3 separate regions of the Homo sapiens genome follow, and regions 2 and 3 are each linked to region 1. The links are contacts of gene promoters, found by promoter capture Hi-C in blood cells and fetal thymus (Javierre and others, 2016). All regions are on one chromosome and are shown on one strand. The core of a region is centred on a gene start or on the middle of the fragment in contact, and the rest is flanking DNA. Distances in the headings are between cores, read along the strand shown.

Region 1 (3,894 bases), core at 582-3,081:
ACATTAACGAAATCTCAAAAGCATCAATGTTATCTCAAAACAGTGACATTGAACGCTGAAGAAATAAGTCTTATGTGACCATAAAAAATAGTTACAAAAATCAATGAGTTTATGGGGATGGTTTTCTGTTTACAAAGTGTAACTGCTTATGGCAAAGACCCCACAGGTCTTTCTGGTCATCCTCTACAGAAAAACCAATTCTCCTGTTTCCCTTTTTTCTTTAAAGACTCGCCTCTGTCCCTTTTTTTTTAAATATACACCTCTCCCAAAACGTTTTCATCGCAAAAAAAAAGAGTTATGCCATTATTAGGAACAGCGTGTCCCAAGACAAGATCTCTATGATCCTTTGTATATTCAAGATTGCAAGAATTGAGCTTTAATAACTCATAGACCATAAACACACCCTGTTAAGGTTTTCCTTCAAACAGCAACATTCCCACTCTTGCGATCCCTAATAGGCGTACATAAGCCACACAACACAATCTTTCAAAACGACACAGATGGTAGGTGCTCTCCAACCTCTCTCGAGAGATCCTCACTGCACATTCTCCTCTAAAGGGCCCACAAACACTACTGTCATTCAGAGGGATGGTGACTGTTGAGCGTGGGTGGGAAAGAAAGTGCACACGAGATACCTAACTGGATGGGGAAGGTTGTTAGAGGCAGCCCTCCGGTATCACGTAACTAGCCAAACCCGCTACAAACTTTTGAGAGATTAAGTTAACATTCCTCGGCAATTCCACCCTTGACAGCTGAATCCAGAGATGCCAGCAAGTCGTGCACGTCTACTACTCCCGCCACCTCAACTCGGGAAGAGTCTGCAGCCACATCCCGCGGTCGGCATGCACCAGGGGCTGGGGAAGAAGGGAGGGCTGGGCGAGCTCACCTTTTCCAGCTCGTCGTGGAGCTCCGCCAGGCTAGGCCGGAGCAGCTTCTCGCCCAGCTGCGCGGCTGTGTGCCGGTAGTGATCGATCCTGGGCACAGCGTCCATGGTGTTGTGGCCGAAGGTGCGCAGGTAGTAGGTGTTGGTGTGGGTATCATAATAGTAGTGCTGGTGGTGCCCACTGCCGCCGCCGCCGCCGGAGTGCAGGCTGCTGCCCTCGCTCAGCACCGTGTCCCCGCCGTTCTGGAAGCTCACGTTGGGCCCGTCGACTCCGACCCCGGCAGCATCTGACAGGCTGTCTTCAGCCGACGAGGAGGCAGCTGGGTCCACGAAGTTCACGCGGAAGCGGCCCTTGGCTTCCTCGCTGCCTTTAGCCGGCTCGCTCTCGCCGCTGGCTTCCCCGTCCGCGGGGGTCTGCTTGGCCCCCGCCCCAGCACCAGCCGCCGCCGCTGCCGCCGCCGCCGCCGCCGCCGCAGCAGCGGCCCGCCCGGCGTTCTCGGAAACCAGGTCCACCTGGAAACGGCTCTGGCTCGGGGTGGGCCCCAAGGGTCTGCCCAGCCCGTCCCCGGCCGCCGCGGGGCCCTCATCGCGGACCCCGCCGCCGTCCCGGCTCGCGGGCGCAGCATCCTCCGGCACCGAGGGCACAGCCGTGCCGGGCAGTTCCACCCTGGCTGCGGCCAGCGCAGCGGCTGACGGCGTCTCCCCGACCCCGGCCAGTCCCGGGGCGCCGGAGGAGGGCGCCGTGGGCCGCGGCTCCATAGCTGCCCGACCCCCGGCGGAACTGCAGAGCCCGGCGGACGTCTCCGGCAGCACGCCCTCCACACCCCTGGCCGGCGGTGGCCACAGCCGCAAGACCAGGTGAGAGAGTCTTTCTCCCCGCCGCCTGCGGGCCGCCGCTAGCCTGGACGGCCACAGAGGCCACCGGCAGCCGAGCGAGCGCGCGAGTGTGGCGGGCGCGGGGCGGGCCCCGCTGTTTAAAGCCTCGGCGGGGCTGCGGCGGCGGCGGCTCCGGCAGCAGCACGCGGGAGGCGGGGCCGGAGGCTCCTCCGCCCCTCAGCCCGCCCACCCGCGGTCCCGCAGCGGCGCGCGGCTGACGCTCCCTCAGCGATCCGGCCCTCCGCGGCTCCTGCGCGACCCCACGCAAAAGCGCCCCGTGCGAAGAGCGCGGCCAGCCAGTCCGCAAAGGGCCTCGGGCAGTGCGGGCAGCACGAACGGCGCGATCGGGGAGCAGGCGCGGCTACGCTCCGCCTCAGTGATGTCGCCGGGAGGATCTCCGCGCGGCTACCTCCTCTTCCGCCGCCTTCCTCCCACGCCTTCACCTCCCTCCCCCGCCGCGCTCTGCGGCGAAAAGGAGCGGGCTCCCAGGCCACCTCCCCTCTCTCCACCCAGGGGCCGCGCGTCAGTGGACCTGCAGCCCAGGCAACGGGGCTGCGGACGGCGCGCGTGCCCTGCCTCGCCTCACGCCGGTAGCTGATGCTCCCGCGGCAGCTGCCACCCCAGCGCCCCAGCCACGGCTTCAGAGGCTCTCGCACGCTGGCTTTTTTTTTTTCCCCCCGCTTTGGTGAACTCGCAGTACTTGGGCTGAGCCCGAAATCTCGCGAGATGCTGCAGGCGTCAGTGCGGCTTCCCACTAGGCGCGTGGTACCCGAGGCCGGGCCGGAGCCGCAGGCCAGCCGCGATTCCTTCGGGCGATGCTGGGGGCTTTCCGGTCGGGGCCGCAGCCGCTTCCGGAGCCGCGGGCGAGGTGCGTTCCCCAGCCTGGTTTGCTCTGGGCTCTGACCCGCCGCCGCGAATCTCCGCTCGTAACTCCGGGCCTGAACCTGGAGGAGGGAGGATTTCCTCTGTGCAGCTTTCGAGCGGTAGACTCACCCTGCCAGGCAGACCTAGATTGGCATAACCAGAGATCAGTTCCAGTTGTGATGCAGTGGGTGTCTACACACTTCTGATGACACCTTTATTTTAAAAGCTGATGTTCCAAGGTGAGAAGGGAGCTTCTTTGAGACGTCATGTTGTTTCAAGACGAGTTTTAATTTAAGGCATTTCCAAAAGTGATATGCAGCTCATCTCTCAGAATACAATGCCGGCAATAACTACCCGTGGAGTCCTTACCAGGAGGTTTCTGCGTGATTTGGGTTGTGCAGAATTCCTCTGCTTATATAGAAACAGAAAGGTACTCCTCTGCAGGTCTAGTTTCTCTTCGGTAAAATGTAAGGGAATATAACTGTGTTCCCACTTTCTTAGCAGCAGAAATTTTTAAACCTATAGATTATGCCCAAAGTCCTAAGTAAAATCAATGAATGGCGTCCTCCAATTACTTGGTTTTTATTTATGTACTTTTTTTTTTTTTTTTTGAGACGGAGTCTCGCTCTGTCGCCCAAGCTGTAGTGCAGGGGTGCGATCTTGGCTCACTGCAAACTCCGCCTCCTGGGTTCACGCCATTCTCCTCCTGCCTCAGCCTCCTGAGTAGTTGGGACTACAGGCGCCCGCCATCACGCCCTGCTAATTTTTTGTATTTTTAGTAGAGTCGGGGTTTCACCGTGTTAGCCAGGATGGTCTCGATCTCCTGACCTCGTGATCCGCCCACCTCCGCCTCTCCAAGTGCTGGGATTACAGGCATGAGCCACCGCGCCCGGCCCTTGTATTTTTAAACTTTGACTTTATGGAGACGAACACCATCGTTTGCTGAACACTTGAAACATGATGAAAGAGCCACAGAGTTGGCAGAACTGTTTGAAAATGCTGTAAGTAAAAGCTGCAACCAGGCAATTTTCAAAAAATTGTCATAAACATGATCTTACTTGAACTTGACAACTTTTCAGGCTATTTTATTATCTCTATTTTTAAAGACGGTGAGAGGGGAAAACAGCTGTTGCATCAGGATTTTTAAAGCTCCTTTTGAGCTTTAGTAATAACCAGAGGAGGCCAGAAAAATGAGGTGGTCCTTTAAGCAGTGCAGTTTTCTACTAGGGAATTGCTGCATTAGTAGTTGATCCGTGCAGTACCTTTCAGCT
Region 2 (3,894 bases), core at 644-3,143, 550 kb after region 1:
TCGGACATGCACAGAGCTATGAGAAATTTGAGTTGCCTGATGCATACACTCCTAGCTGAGGCTGAACAAGGCAGTGCCCTGACTTCTTCTTTCAGCTGACACAATGTAAACAGGTATCCTTTTTGGGATCTATTTAGCACCTCTTTTTTGCATCTTTGTGTTTGTTGATGTTAACTGCTGTTTTCAAATGGCCCCCAAGTGTAGTGCTGGAGTGCTGTAGTGTTCCTAAGCACAAGAAGACAATGATGTGCCTTAATGAGAAAACGAGTGTGTTAAATAAGCTGCATTCAAGCATGAGTTACAGTACTGTTGACTGTGAGAGTTCAATATTAATGAATCAAAAATATGTGCATGTATGTGTATAAAAATGTATTTAAACAGAAAGAGGCATAAAACAAAGTTATGTATTGACAGGTTGGCAAAATGTGACCAGAGGCCCACAGTATCCTAACCATCGTATCTCCCCTGGGAGCAATGGCTCAGTATTCACAAATTCAGTCTGTAGCAACTTTATGGAACACAATTATGTTGAAAAACAAGAACTGTCTGTCTTACAAATAAGATTTCTTGATGGATTAGAAGTGGGTAATGAGAGAAGTCAGGGCTGACTCCAAGGTTTCTTGCCTGAGAAAACGGAAGGCTAGAACTGCCATCAATTAAGGTGAAGAAGGCTAGAGGGAGCAAGTGTGGAGGAAAGAAGTTTAGTTCTAGACATATTAAGTTTGAGATATTCAAGTAAACTTGTCAAAAAGGCAACTTATATATAAATCAAGAGTCTACAGGAAGGTCTCAGGTGGAGATATAAATTTGGAACTGTTAGCACAGAGACAGTATTTAAAGCCATGGGATAGTCTGAGAGTGAATTGATGAGAAGGTGACCGTCAGAAGACTGGAGAGAAGAGGAGGAATCAGCAAAGGAAGTACAGAAGGAGTGAGCAATACATGAAGGAGGGAAAAACTAAAGTGTGGAATCCTAGAAATCAAGTGAAAAAAGCATTAAAGAGAAGTGCATGATCAACTGTCTCAAAAGCCTCTGGTAAGTCCAATAAGATGGAGAACATTAGCACGAGCCTGAAAGCACTATCAGTAGAGTGCTGGACATCAAAGCCTAACTGAGGTAGACTTAACTGAATGTGAAAAGGATATGAGAAAAGTGCTGCCAACTCCTTGGAGTTTAGCTGCAAAAGGAAGCAAAATAGGTCATTAAGTTATAGAGGAAGGGAGGTCAAAGAATTTGTTGGGGTTTCCTTTGGTTTTTTCTTTTTTTTTCAAGGTGAGAAAGATGTTTGTATGCCAATGAACTGTTAATTTGTTCTTGCATGACTGTATGCTGGTAATAACACAAAGAGAGGAAAATAAAGTATGAAAGAGAGGACGGAATTCCTGGAACTTACATATTTTTAAGCATTATCAATAGGGATAATAAAAGCTTATGGGATTCAAGGGATATTATCATCTCAGTAATTGATTTGAATGTTAATGCTGGATTAAGAAGATCTCTTTTAGGACTAACTATTCCTTTTGTGCTCTCTCAATGTTTCTTTCCCTCCCACAATAATCAAAACCTATCTTAAATTTCTTTAAATTAAAACTCCACTATATCTTCATAATACGATAGGGCTGTCTACTAAAAGCAAAGTTCATTGTTATTTCAGTATGTAAAAGTCTATTAGCTCCATAGAGACAACAGATTATCAGAATTGTGAAAAAATTAAATGCCAGTTTCCATGTCCTGAAAATGGTGTTCTGTTACTCACTTTTAATCCAGCTGCATAGCCCACTGGTTGTGGGGCAATATTGGACTGTCCAGCTTCCCCTACAACCACAGCTAAGCCAAAGACCTCCTGGAAGGCATCTCGGACAGCAGCAACTTTTACTTCTTTATTTGAGGTCACTACAATATCCAGTTCACCTCCAGATTCTAAAAAGACCAGAGGAAAATTTAACTTTCAAATTAAAATAATGAAATTCTCATAATTACTACCATACCAGGTGCTAACATCTAATATACATAATTATTACCAGTTTCATAAAACCATGCAAGATATAGATCATTATCTTTTTTATATGCTTGAGAAAACTGAGGCCAACAAAGTTTTGCCCAAGGTAACGTATCTACTTAGCACTAATGTCAGGACTCAAAACTGACATTACATATCACAAGCCAGAAATCACATATCTGGCTTGTGAAGTGTAAGTTACATATTTAGTATACTCCACGGAAAATTAAAATAAAGACTTACTGATAGTAAGTGATTTGTCAATGAGTTGCAGAGAAGTTATGTACTAAACAAGCACTACCATGAAATATACTTTTTAACCTAGAAAATAGTTTAAATATGGGGTCATCAAGCTTTTTATTAAATATCCCCACAATGTTCTGAGCATACACCACAAATAGATATTTATCAATTATACATGTACTACTGCCCTAATATAAATATGCAAGCATATATGAAATTGAAATAACACATAAAACTTAAAATTTAAAATATTAAGAGTAATACGAAATAAAAATATTTTCAAATATTTTTAATTTTTCAATTACTTAAACAACCTAAGTACTACTATTTCTAGACAGATCAATTTGACCAAATGTTTCATTATTTTTAAAAATCTTAACCAAACATTTCTGTGATATAATGAATTCAAAGCCCTTGTTCTAAACACAGCACATTTTGATATTTGGCATTAATAGTTATCACCGGCAAAAGAGATTTTTCATGAAAATTGTTTATAATGTAAAACATTTTGCCCTAGAAACAAGGTTGTTTTTCCCTAATAAATATCATGTGGAACAGGGAAAGATATTTTCAAATATTTGGGTTTTAAAAATAATGGATCCCTTTTTCCTGACTGACATAATGTCTCACAGATCACATCTGTACTGGATACTTCAGAAGTTACTAGGACATAAAAGAGAAGAAGAATATACTTTTTTTTTCACTTTTTTCCTCCACATGGGACACATCTCTCGACCTTAGCTAAGTACTGCTCCATTAAGCTTCAGCTCAAAATGGCTTTTCAGCTTGTGATGAGTAGTCCTGCCATTTCTAATACTTTTTGAGTTTCTTGACACATACGAAATTGTTACATCAAATGATTTCTAGAATATTTGTGTAAAAATACCTTAAGATGGCCGGGCGCGGTGGTTCACGCCTGTAATCCCAGCACTTTGGGAGGCCTAGGCGGGAGGATCAAAAAGTCAAGAGATCGAGATCATCCTGGCCAACATGGTGAAACCCCATCTCTACTAAAAATACAAAAATTAGCTGGGCATGGTGGCGTGCACCTGTAGGTCCAGCTACTCAGGAGGCTGAGGTAGGAGAATCGCTTGAACTCAGGAGGCAGAGGTTGCAGTGAGCTGAGATTGCACCACTGCACTCCAGCCTGGCGGTAGAGTGAGACTCCACCTCAAAAAAAAAACAACAAAAAAAAAAACCTTAAGATTTACTTTGAGTTGTTTTGTTAGATCAGAATGGTGATGCTTTGCTGTCAGTAAAGATGTCAGCTTTCTTAAATTCGATTTTATTACTTTTTAAAGCTGATAAAGTTATGACATTTGCTAATAATAGAAATTTCATTTCTGTACCTTTCTTTTTTCCCCTTCGGTGTTACACATTTTTCTTGATGGCTCTACCTTTATCATTTACTAGCTTCTTTACCTTGTGGAAGTCACTGAGCTTGTTTCTTTGTAGAAAAATGCCTGCTATCCAGCCTGGCCAACATGGAGAAACCCCGTCTCTACCAAAAATTAGCTGGGCGTGGTGGCACACGGCTGTAGTCCCAGCTACTCAGAAGACTGAGACATAAGAATAACTTGAACCCAGGAGGCAGAGGTTGTAGTGAGCTGAGATCACGCCACTGCACTCCAGTCTGAGTGACAGAGTGAGA
Region 3 (3,894 bases), core at 1,024-3,523, 520 kb after region 1:
TGTGTTTATAAACCTTGAGCTAGATACAGAGTGTCTGCCGATTGGTGTATTTACAATCCCTTAGCTAGACCTAAAGGTTCTCCAAGTCCCCACCAGAGTCAGGAGCCCAGCTGGCTTCACTCAGTGGATCCGGCACCTGGCCGCAGGTGGAGCTGCCTGCCAGTCCCGCGCCGTGAGCCCGCACTCCTCAGCCCTTGGGTGGTCGATGGGACTGGGCGCTGTCGAGCAGGGGACGCCGCTCGTCGGGGAGGCTCGGCCGCACAGGAGCCCACGGAGGCGGAGGGGAGGCGCAGGCATGGTGGGCTGCAGGTCCCGAGCCCTGCCCCGCGGGAAGGCAGCTAAGGCTCGGCGAGAAATTGAGCACAGCAGCTGCTGGCCCAGGTGCTAAGCCCCTCACCGCCCGGGGCCGGCGGGGCCTGCCGGCAGCTCCGAGTGCAGGGCCCGCCGAGCCCACGCCCACCCGGAACTCGCGCTGGCCCGCAAGCACCGCGCGCAGCCCCGGTTCCCGCCCGCGCCTCTCCCTCCACACCTCCCCGCAAGCTGAGGGAGCCGGCTCCGGCCTTGGCCAGCCCAGAAAGGGGCTACCACAGTGCAGTGGCGGGCTGAAGGGCTCCTGAAGTGCCGCCAAAGTGGGAGCCCAGGCAAAGGAGGCGCCAAGAGCGAGCGAGGGCTGTGAGGACTGCTAGCACGCTGTCACCTCTCAATATGGTCCAACCAAGGTCAACTAGTTGATTGCAGCCCGATTTCACAGGTTAGTTTTTAAAAGTACATTGCATAACTATTGTCAAAAGTGTTATTCTCTCCTTTAAAATCAACCCTTAGAGATACAAAAAAAGCATAAGAGAAAATGTCAAATCTGATTGGTGGTAGTATCTCTTTAAGATATCTAATTTGTATTATGTAGTGAATTGGCTGTTACATCTAATCAAAAAAAGCCTCTTATACTATGGGATTTTTCTCACTCATAAGATGTTGTATGGAGAACTTGCAATGTCCACAAATATCATCAATGTTTAAATTGACAAACTTCTCTCGTGTCTTAGTTGGCTTGAAGTCTTTTGGGGGAAATTTTCTTCGTTCTTTTTTTTAACTTCTTTCCTTTTGACTTTCTTCCTTTCCCTCATTTTTTTCTCCCTCCTGTATAGCTTTGGTTTTTTTTTTCTTTCCTTTTTTTTATGAAACAAGGGGAAACAAAGAGAAACTAACATCTATTGAGCACCCACTTTGGTGGTAAGTGGTTTCCAAGTATTATTTTATTATCAGTGCAGCAACGATAGGATTCCTTCCATTGGCTTAATCTGAAATATTCTGTCATGCTTCCAATCAATCCATTTTCAATTGAGATTTGTTTTTTTTTAAGTAGCAAAGGCAGTTGATTAAGTGTATTGTTTTAAGATGTCCAAGTCCTTAACATACTCAATATCTAGACAGCTGCCCTACCTGTGTGATCTAGACAGCATACAATTTGTCTTTAAGATAAAAACACACAAATATGCACACACAAAATATCTACTCTTTCTTTTGGTTCTGTGATGTGTATGCAAGGTTTTATTGGTTGTCCTGTGTCTCTCTCTCCTCCTCCTCCTCCTCCTTCCCCTCTTCTTCCACTTTCTCTTTCTCTTATGTCATACCCATCCACGATGACACCCCTGCCCTTCATTGCCTCATGCCCAAGGGCAGCTTATGGTCTTCCAACGGATGAGATCTGATGTGGCTACACAGACTTACTGATCCAAAACGGAGGGAGAGGTCTGCATTCTCTTCCAGAGATTTTACTCACTCTTCTCCATATGTTTTTTCATACCTGTCAATCCCTTTCTCTGTTGCTTTATCATAGTTTCTTCCACTTTTTTAAATCATATTGAGAAGATTAAGCTTCAAATATGCTTTTGGCCCAATAAACTTTAAAGTGAAGAGTTTTACTCTTTGCCAAAATAGCTTCTAAGATGCAGTTGGGGAAATTAACATTCGGTTGGGAGGCTTTACACCCTCATGCTCAACAGGTGTTCTCCACTGGCTTTTTAATGGTAATAACAATCCACAACTGTGGAGTTATTTGCCCCTTAATCTTCACAAAAAATAAAAGGAAGGTACTATTTATCCTCATTTTATGATAAGGAAGCATAGAGAGGTTATATAACTCTTTAAGGTTGCACTGATGGTAAACAGTGGAGCTAGAGCATGGCCCATATCTATCTGATCAAAAATCCATATCTTTCCCCTAAGCCACACTTTTCACATGTGCCAAGGGGACTCTGAAATGTTGCTCTGTCAATAAATATCTGCACACACGTACCCCACATCCTTGAATTCAGCCCCACAAGGGCTCTGTGGTGCCTTGTTTACAGGTGGTGATGATAGTAATAATAATAGTTGCTGTCGGGGACGTGACAGCTGGCTGGTGGTGTTCATAATGAAAGTTCACCTTCCCGCCACCTCCCCTAGAGCCAAGAAGATCATGGTTATCACAGTCTCAGGCCATTTTTCTTTGGGCTCCTTTACCAAGACAGTCATAGGTAAAGAAAGGTAGACTTATTAGAGGAAGCATGAAGATAATGTTGCAAGGATGCAACAAGCAGCACAGCAGAGAAGGGGCTGTCTGCAAAGATGCAGGGGCTGGAGGGAAGTTTTGTAAGGTCGTGCTGGAGAGGGCTGTGTGCAAGTAAGCTTGTGCTATGCTATATGCTAAGACTATGTTGGGGTAATTTTTAACTGTCAGCCCTTTCCTCTCCAGGTGCCCAAGGGAAATGCTTTGCTGTTGTTAGCCATTTTGCAACCCATATGCCTTCTGTTTCTGGAGTTGCAAGATATTGGTTGTGGTTTTTCACACAAAAGGGTTGCAAATGGGGTTAGATCCCTGGGTTAGGTCCAGTCCCTGTTCTACCAGCCTGGCTCCTTCCGGTTCCTTTTAACTTATTGATTTACTAGGGTCCCACGGTTACTGCTTATGCTGAATTTAACTGTCATACACTATTCTAAGTGCTTTTACATATATAAACTAATTTTACAGATGAAAATGGGGCTCAAAGTCAAATACCTACAACACAGGTGTTTCATGCTGTGAGGGTAGAGAGAAATCTTCCTCTTTGCCCACTGAGGGATTACTGAAAATGAATGGATGAAAGGCAGATTAGTACAAGAAAAAGGCATACAAAATGTATTTGAAGTGTCCAGGGGAAATCACAGTAGAGTGATTACCCAATAACCCAATGAGGCCCAGAGGCTTTCATACCCTTCTTCATAGGGGAAGGGAAGATGGTGATGAAGGAGTAACCGATTTTCCATGGAAATGAATGAGCCCAAAGAAAAATGGTCTGAGACCATGTTCCTCTGGGCTCTGGGCTCTGGGCTCTGGGGGAGGTGGCAGGAAGGTGGACCTTCATTATCAACAAAGCTTGTCTTATACAGATAGAGCCTCCCTGGTAATCTTAGTAGCTGCCTTCAGAAGAATAGATGAAAAGTTTGTCTGTCTGGGTGTGGTGACAACTCCCAGTCTCTTCTCCTGTGGTTAATCTTTCCTAGTTATTTGATGAGATTCCTAAGAACAGAGTCTTAAGACAATTGCATTTATTTTGGAAAAAAAAAGCTTCCTTAGCCAGATAAGGAAATTTGGGACAGAGTCCCTTCTGGTGCTTGGGAAAAGAGAGGATAAGAGAAACAGGTGTGAGGGGGAAGGTTCTGAGGCTTATTTCTGAGACCTTTCCATTTTCTTTCCTTCAAAGCATTCAGCATGCCAACTTACCGTATTTTGTGGTGCTGTTTTCTGTGCCTCAACAGTGCAAATTAAAGGGGCTGTCCTTTATTAAGAAAGTTTCTTCTGTATTCCAGGATTTCTCAGAGCCTTTTCCTATGCACTCTAAATTTTCTAGATGTGTTTGATGAAGGGATCCTTTG

The links. The method cuts DNA at HindIII sites, captures the fragments that hold promoters and counts their contacts. A CHiCAGO score of 5 or more calls a contact.
Region 2: a contact is called between a fragment that was not itself captured here and the fragment with the promoter of SLC12A2 in region 1, in 2 of 17 cell types (non-activated CD4 T cells and total CD4 T cells). The highest score is 7.0, in non-activated CD4 T cells.
Region 3: a contact is called between a fragment that was not itself captured here and the fragment with the promoter of SLC12A2 in region 1, in 6 of 17 cell types (naive CD8 T cells, total CD8 T cells, megakaryocytes and 3 more). The highest score is 8.1, in naive CD8 T cells.

What each region holds. Positions count from the first base shown.
Region 1 is chr5:128,081,703-128,085,596 of GRCh38, reverse strand. It overlaps SLC12A2 (solute carrier family 12 member 2), which reads right to left and starts at 1,831. Exons shown (of 27, transcript NM_001046.3): 1 at 887-1,831. The coding sequence starts at 1,642. It overlaps SLC12A2-DT (SLC12A2 divergent transcript), which reads left to right and starts at 2,422. Exons shown (of 4, transcript NR_152813.1): 1 at 2,422-2,627. RefSeq lists an enhancer at 678-847 and a silencer at 1,338-2,167. The HindIII fragment of the contact is 20,683 bases long and covers 1-3,894 here.
Region 2 is chr5:127,531,650-127,535,543 of GRCh38, reverse strand. It overlaps PRRC1 (proline rich coiled-coil 1), which reads right to left. Exons shown (of 9, transcript NM_130809.5): 6 at 1,758-1,921. Among named protein-coding and RNA genes, the nearest start is that of PRRC1, 16 kb to the right of the region's middle. The HindIII fragment of the contact is 924 bases long and covers 1,432-2,355 here.
Region 3 is chr5:127,566,083-127,569,976 of GRCh38, reverse strand. It overlaps LOC124901058 (a long non-coding RNA gene), which reads left to right and starts at 512. Exons shown (of 2, transcript XR_007058924.1): 1 at 512-751. RefSeq lists a silencer at 2,598-2,657. The HindIII fragment of the contact is 792 bases long and covers 1,878-2,669 here.